2 separate regions of the Homo sapiens genome follow, and region 1 is linked to region 2. The links are contacts of gene promoters, found by promoter capture Hi-C in human tissues and cell types (Jung and others, 2019). All regions are on one chromosome and are shown on one strand. Each heading gives the region's core, a stretch centred on a gene start or on the middle of the fragment in contact. The rest is flanking DNA. Distances are from core to core; before and after follow the strand shown.

Evidence for each region. The method cuts DNA at HindIII sites, captures the fragments that hold promoters and counts their contacts. A contact is called where the count stands out against the background at its distance.
Region 1: a contact is called between the fragment with the promoter of IRF7 here and a fragment that was not itself captured in region 2, in 3 of the 25 tissues and cell types used here (H1 embryonic stem cells, dorsolateral prefrontal cortex and spleen).

The regions. Positions count from the first base shown.
Region 1 is chr11:614,674-617,199 of GRCh38, forward strand. IRF7 (interferon regulatory factor 7) reads right to left here and starts at 1,277. Exons shown (of 11, transcript NM_001572.5): 1 at 1,240-1,277; 2 at 672-974; 3 at 424-586; 4 at 124-334. The coding sequence starts at 691. CDHR5 (cadherin related family member 5) reads right to left here. Exons shown (of 15, transcript NM_021924.5): 15 at 1,910-2,526. RefSeq lists an enhancer at 139-733. The HindIII fragment of the contact is 18,510 bases long and covers 1-2,526 here.
Region 2 is chr11:758,692-763,445 of GRCh38, forward strand. It overlaps TALDO1 (transaldolase 1), which reads left to right. Exons shown (of 8, transcript NM_006755.2): 3 at 259-366; 4 at 1,431-1,562; 5 at 4,653-4,754. Among named protein-coding and RNA genes, the nearest start is that of TALDO1, 14 kb to the left of the region's middle. RefSeq lists an enhancer at 3,897-4,754. The HindIII fragment of the contact is 7,127 bases long and covers 1-4,754 here.

The sequences.
Region 1 (2,526 bases), core at 27-2,526, 150 kb before region 2:
GTCCTGGGCCTGCTGGCAGCCTCTCCCAGAACAGCTTCTAAAACCACAAATCTGACCCAGAGAATGTTCCCCTTTGCCCAAGCAGGACGAATGCCAACGCCCTTGGCAGCCGGCGTCGCTCACCTCGCCAGCACAGCTCCCGGCTGAGCGCGTACACCTTGTGCGGGTCGGCCGGGTCCCCCGAGTTATCCCGCAGCATCACGAAGCGACGCGTGCTGCGCAGTGCGCAGCGGAAGTTGGTTTTCCAGCCGGCGCGCTCCGCAGTCTCAGCCTCGGGGGGCGGGCCACCTCCCCTGCTGCTAGGCGGCCACCTGCCGCGGGCCACAGCCCAGGCCTGAAGAGGGGGACAGAACACGTGTGCCGGGCCCGCGGGGTCCTAGGCGGGCTCTCCCACCCGGGGCGGGGCGGGGCTGGGGTCCCCACCTTGAAGATGCGCGCGTCGGCCTCGCTCAGGTCCTTGCGCGCGAAGTGCTTCCAGGGCACGCGGAAACAGGTGCGGGCCTCGTCCAGCCACTGCAGCCCCTCATAGCAGCCGCTGCTGATCTCTCCAAGGAGCCACTCTCCGAACAGCACGCGTGGGGCTGCCCTGCGGGTGCCCGGCCGCGGAGAGTCAGGGCCGGCTGCAGGGCGCTCGGGGACTGGCATCTGGAGAGGGTGGGCCGGGCTCTTACCTCTCAGGAGCCAAGGCCATTGCTCCTTCTGCAGGGGCAGTTAGGTGGCGGTCAGGTGTTATAACAGGGGAGGTAAGGGCTCCTGTCGCAGCAGACGCCAGGCCGCGGCCACAGGTCGTGTGGCCAGGTGTCACAGGTGTCCACAGGTGTGGACTGAGGGCTTGTAGCCACCGACGCTGCCTCGGTATGGATCTCTTGGCAGAGGGGGCTACAGGTGTGACTGCAGGTGTGGCCGGCGCGCACACATGAAGTCACAGGTGTTGAACCAGTGTCCAGGCCTGGCGGGAAGGCGCAGGCCGGACCCTGCGGAGACGGGAAAGGCGACGTCAGGGGCGGGTCAGGCTCCCGGGAAAGCGAAACCTAAACAGTGGCGCTTCGCACCCTCCTCGATCCCACCCCGTCCGGTTCTCAGCTCCGCGGAACCCCGCCTCCGCCTCCGCCTCCCTCCCCGCCCGACCCTCATCTCTCAGGCTCCCCCAGCTCTTGGCTCTACCCCTCCGGGGTCACGGAGCCCCCACGGAGGCTCTCGCTCCCGGCCTGCACCGCGTGGGTCTGGGGTCCCCAGTACCTGGGTGCCAGAGCCGCCGGGACGGGAAGTTTCGTCTCGCGGGGAAGCGGAGGGCCGGCGCTTTTATGGTGGCCAGGCGGGAGTTTCCGGGAAGGGCGCGCGCCGCCTGTTCTTATTATTGGATGCGACCAGCGGAACCCCGCCCCGGCCAGCGCGGAGTAGGGAGGAGTGGAGGGCGTTGGGAGTGGCTGCAGTGAGCCGAGATGGAGCCACTCCACTACAGCCCAGGGGACAGAGCAAGACTCAGTCTCAAAAAAAAAAGGAAGTGGGTAATGGGAGGTGGACGTGCCTCGAAAAAGGGGCAGCTGCACCGTTTGCGTTTCTTTTTTTGAGATGGAGTTTCGCTTTTGTTACCCAGGCTGGAGTGCGGTGGCACAATCTTGGCCCACCACAACCTCCGCCTCCCGGGTTCAAGTGATTCTCCTACCTAAGCCTCCCGAGTAGCTGGGATTACAGGCATGAACCACCACGCCCGGCTAATTTTGTATTTTTAGTAGAGACGGGGTTTCTCTATGTTGGTCAGGCTGGTGTCGAACTCCCGACCTCAGGTGATCTGCCCACCTCGGCCTCCCAAAGTGCTGGGATTTAGGCGAGAGCCGCCGTGCGCAGCCCCCTTTGGGTTTTTTACATTGTTCAGTCAAGAATATCAGATACTCTCACAATTAAAACATTTGGAAAGGAATTAATGGTGTATTTCCATTAGGGAAAGTGCTGACAAGCCGCAAGGGATCCCTTGATGGTTCTGGGCATGGGCGCCCAGCCTGGGCTCTGGCTTTGGGAGCAGCGAGGGGAATGTGTCTCTCACCCCTAGGCCTCCTGGTCTGGCTCCTGCTCAGGCCACACGGCGCACCCACCCCCAGCGCGCCTCAGTCCAGGTCACTGGGCAGGGTGTTTACTGCTGCGCTCCAACCCAAGCATGTAGATTTCAGAAGGGGACTAGGACCCCCGGCAGGTGTTTGAGACCACCGGCTCCCAAGTGCGTCGCCTTGGGGGTTTGCATCGGCTCCTCAGCCTCCCCAGGCAATCTCTGTGTAGGGTCGGGAGCGGGAGGTCTGAGATGAGCCGGGTGCCTGAGATCTCCGGTGCAGGTCGGGGGAGGGGAGCCCCCCTCGGGCTGTGGTTAGAGCGGGAGAGGAACTTCCCAGACTAGCTGGCACAGAGCCTCGGGAAGGCGGCGGGCACTGCAGGTGGTTTACGGGAAGTGCTGCAGCCTTGGGGTGGGGACAGCGTGGCCAGACCCACCGCCTCATCTGCACACCTGGGCTCAAGCGCTAATGACGACAGGGG
Region 2 (4,754 bases), core at 1,417-3,916:
CCTCCCAGGTTCACGTCATTCTCCTGCCTCAGCCTCCCTAGTAACTAGGACTACAGGCACCCGCCACCATGCCCAGCTAATTTTTTAATATTTTTAGTGGAGACGGGGTTTCACCGTGTTAGCCAGGATGGTCTTGATCTCCTGACCTCATGATCCGCCCACCTCGGCCTCCCAAAGTGCTGGGATTACAGGCGTGAGCCACCGCACCTGGCGAACCTCAGAAGCTTCTAACCTGCTTTTTTTCCCTTTGAATTTCAGGTCACAAGAGGACCAGATTAAAAATGCTATTGATAAACTTTTTGTGTTGTTTGGAGCAGAAATACTAAAGAAGATTCCGGGCCGAGTATCCACAGAAGTAGACGCAAGGTAAGGATGCTTGCTCCTGCACTGGATGGGCTGGTCAGGTGTCCACAGTTGCACACGTGGATGCCAACATGAGGTCAAGGGGCTGCTCCACCCATGGTCTTCATCCCAAGGGCCCAAGAGGAGGTTTATTTTGAGCTCTCCCACAGTTGGTAGTGATGACCAAGAGCTCCTTGTTTAGCAACTGATCTCTAGTGTTTTTTATTTTTATTTTTATTTATTTTTGAGATGGAGTCTCGCACTGTCACCCAGGCTGGAGTACAGTGGCGCAATCTCAGCTCACTGCAACCTCTGTCTCCCGGCTTGAAGCGTTTCTCTGCCTCAGCCTCCCAAGTAGCTGAGATTACAGGCACCTGCCACCATGCCCAGCTAATTTGTTGTATTTTTAATAGAGATGGGGTTTGACCATTTTGGCCAGGCTGGTCTTGAACTCCTGACGTCATGATCCACCTGCCTCGGCCTCCCAAAGTGCTGGGATCACAGGCATGAGCCACTGTGCCCGGCTGCTAGTGTTTTTTGTTTTGATTTGTTTTGTTTGTTTTTTGAGACAGAGTCTCGCTCTGTTGCCAGTGTAGAGTGCAGTGGTGTGATCTCAGCTCACTGCAACCTTCACCTCCCGGGTTCAAGCGATTCTCCTGCCTCAGCCTCCCAAGTAGCTGGGACTACAGACACCCGCCACCATACCCAGCTAATTTTTTTGTATTTTTAGTAGCGACAGGGTTTCACCATGTTGGCCAGGATGGTCTCGATCCCTTGACCTTGTGATCTTCCCGCCTCAGCCTCCCAAAGTGTTGGGATTACAGGCGTGAGCCACGGCACCTGGCCCAGTGTTTTTTAATACAAATTATAGCCTATGGATCCCACTGAGGACCTCTGTTTGTGAGACTGGGTGTGAGTTGCTGTCAGAGCCATTCTGCAAACCTCCAGTGAGGGGAAGGTTGAGGGCAGTGGTTGGTGCTCACGGTGGTGCTGCTCAAAACTGACAGGCAGACACCCGGCCTCCAGCTTGCTCTGCGTGGTGGGCAACCTGCGTGATCTGAGGGGATGGGTTCTTCTTGCTCCTACAGGCTCTCCTTTGATAAAGATGCGATGGTGGCCAGAGCCAGGCGGCTCATCGAGCTCTACAAGGAAGCTGGGATCAGCAAGGACCGAATTCTTATAAAGCTGTCATCAACCTGGGAAGGAATTCAGGCTGGAAAGTAAGTGGTCCCCCACAAGGAAGGAGCTCTCAGAGATTTTTCCTCTGTTGGAGCAGGGTCTACATGGCATCAGGCAAGTTTGACTCTCTCAGCCCTGGGGAATGCCAGACTGGGGAGCACAGCCCACAGCTTGGACTTGACCAGCTCATGTCAGCCTAGATCTGCCCTCTGCTCCAGAGCCAGCTCCCTCACTTGCTGGTGATCAGAAATGAGGGATTTCCCAGGAAGTACCATCCACCCACTCAGCAGAGAAGAAAAGCCACTAGTTAGCACCTGCAGATTCAGATTCTGTCCTTCCTCTGTCCTGATCAACACAAGCCTATGTTTACATGATTTTTAAAAAGTAAACTATTGTTATATAAAATATATGCTGGCTGGGCAAGATGGCTCATGCCTGTAATCCCAGCAATTTGGGAGGCTGAGATGGGAGGATCACTTGAGCCCAGGAGTTCCAGACCAGCCTGGGCAACAAAGTGAAACCTTGTCTCTACAAAAATATAAAGAAATTTTAGGCTGGGCACGGTGGCTCCCAGCACTTTGGGAGGCCGAGGCGTGGGGATCACGAGGTCAGGAGATCGAGACCATCCTGGCTAACACGGTGAAACCCCGACTCCACTAAAAAATATAAAAAATTAGCCGGGCATGGTGGCACACACCTGTAGTCCCATTTAGGAGGCTGAGGCAGGAGAATTGCTTGAACCCAGGAGGCGAAGGTTGCAGTTAGCTGAGATCACACCACTGCACTCCAGTCTGGGTGACAGAGCAAGACTCTGTCTCAAAAAGAAAAGAAAACTTTTAGGCCGGGCACGGTGGCTCATACCTGTAATCCTAGCACTCTGGAAGCCTGAGGTGGGTAGATCACCTGAGGTCAGGAGTTCGAGACCAGGCTGGCCAAGATAGTGGAACCCCGTCTCTACCAAAACTACAAAAAATTTAGCTGGGCGTGGTGGCAGGTGCCTGTAATCCTAGCTACATGGGAGGCTGAAGCAGGAGAATCACTTCAACCTGGGAGGTGGACGTTGCAGTGAGCCGAGATTGCACCATTGTACTCCAGCCTGGGTGACAGAATGAGACTCCATCTCAAAAAAAAAAAAAAAAAAGAAAAGAAAAACTAGCCCACCCCTGTGATTCCAGCTACTTAGGAGGCTGAGGCGGGAGGATCGCTTGAGCCTGGGAAGTTGAGGTTCCAGTAGCTATGATCGTACCACTGCACTCCAGCCTGGGTGACAGAGTGAGACCCTGTCTCAGAAAAACCAAACCAAACATATGTACGTTCAGAGTGGAAGAGACAGAAAATGTATAAAACAAAGTAAAACTCCTCTATGATGTTCTCACCCAGAAGCAGCCAATGCTATACTCAAATAATTCGCATCAGGAAGAGGTGTTTTGTTTCCACATCTGTGTGTCTGCATGTTCTACCACCTGCCATCACTGACCTGCTCTGAGATAGCATCTCACTTTTTCACCACGGCTGGAGTGCAGTGGCACGAACTTGGCTCACTGCAGCCTTGACTCCAGGCTCAAGCTATCTTTCCACCTCAGTCCCCCAAGTGGCTGGGATGACAAGCACACATACCACTCCTGGGTAATTTCACCACGTTCCCCAGGCTGGTCTCGAACCCCTGGGCTCAAGAGATCTCTACCCATCTTGGCCTCCCAAAGTGCTGGGATTATAGGCATGAGCCATTGTGCCTGGCCTCATTTGTGTGTTTTTTTGTTTTTTTTTGTTTTTGAGACGGAGTTTCATTCTCGTCCATGCTGGAGTGCAATGGTGCTATCTCAGCTCACTGCAACCTCCACCTCTGGGGTTCAAGAGATTCTCCTGCCTCAGCCTCCGGAGTAGCTGGGATTACAGGCAGGCGCCACCACTCCCGCCTAATTTTATATTTTTAGTAGAGATGGGGTTTCTCATGTTAGTCAGGCTGATCTCAAACTCCCAGCCTCAGGTGATCCGCCCGCCTCGGCCTCCCAAAGTGTTGGGATCACAGGTTTGAGCCACTGCACCTGGCCGGACCATTTGTTTTTATATGTTGGAAAATACTCCATTTTATGGATAGGCCACAGTTATTCATCTGTTGGTGGACACCTGGTCAGTTTCCATCTCTTGAGCTGTGATGTATATTGCTGTGGTCGGTTTCCATTTCTCGGGCTGTGATGTATGCTGCTGCTCTGAACACATCTGCTGCTATGAACACATCTGCTGCTCTGAACACAGATGTGCAAGTTTTGTCCTGGACATGTGTTTTTGTTTCTCGTGGGCATATGCCTAGGAGTGGAGTCTCTGGGTGACTGCTGGAGGAACTGCAGGCTGTTTCCCAACTCAGCTGTGCCATCTGCTGTCCCCCTCGAACACCCCCGTGTGGCCATGTGGCAGAGGCGCCTGGGGAGGGAACTTGTGTCTGAAGGTGCCTGAGCAGAGCCTTGGCTGTCTCATCCCATGCCCCAGCCACATGGCAAAGTATGGGCACTGCTCCGTCCTTGGGGATCAACCCCAGGATGTCCAAAGTGCACTGGGATTTGGGCAAGTGGCCTAGTGAGGCCAAGGGGCTCCTCTCAGCAGAAACCAGGGTGCTACGGGCCTGCTGCAGGGTGGCCCCAGGAATGGGTAGGGTGGAACAGGGTGAGGACTGGAATGTGGTCAGAGATGACTCAGTGGTTCTAGCCTGGGAGCTGAGCCCTGGTGAGTTCTGGGATGAGGTGACGGCCTGGCGCAAGAGCACGGGCACCCAGAGGGCCTCCCTTGCCTTTGTCTATTGTGTCATGTGGGTTGGAGAAAATCCTGGTCACCCATAACCCACTATCCACTTAGAGCCCTCGAGTCTTACCGATTTGTTCTTAACAATGGCATGAGCCTGTTCCTGCCTTTTTAGTTTAAGGCCCGTGAGCGTCTTTGGCAGCCTGTGGCTCTGGGTGGGCACCTGGCCTGCATTCACCTGCCCCGCCCTCACCTGCCCCGCCCTCACCTGCCCCCGCCCTCACCCGCCCCCGCCCTCACCCATCCCCGCCCTCACCGTCCCCGCCCTCACCCGCCCCCGCCCTCACCTGTCCCCGCCCTCACCTGCCCCGCCCTCACCTGTCCCCGCCCCGCAGGGAGCTCGAGGAGCAGCACGGCATCCACTGCAACATGACGTTACTCTTCTCCTTCGCCCAGGCTGTGGCCTGTGCCGAGGCGGGTGTGACCCTCATCTCCCC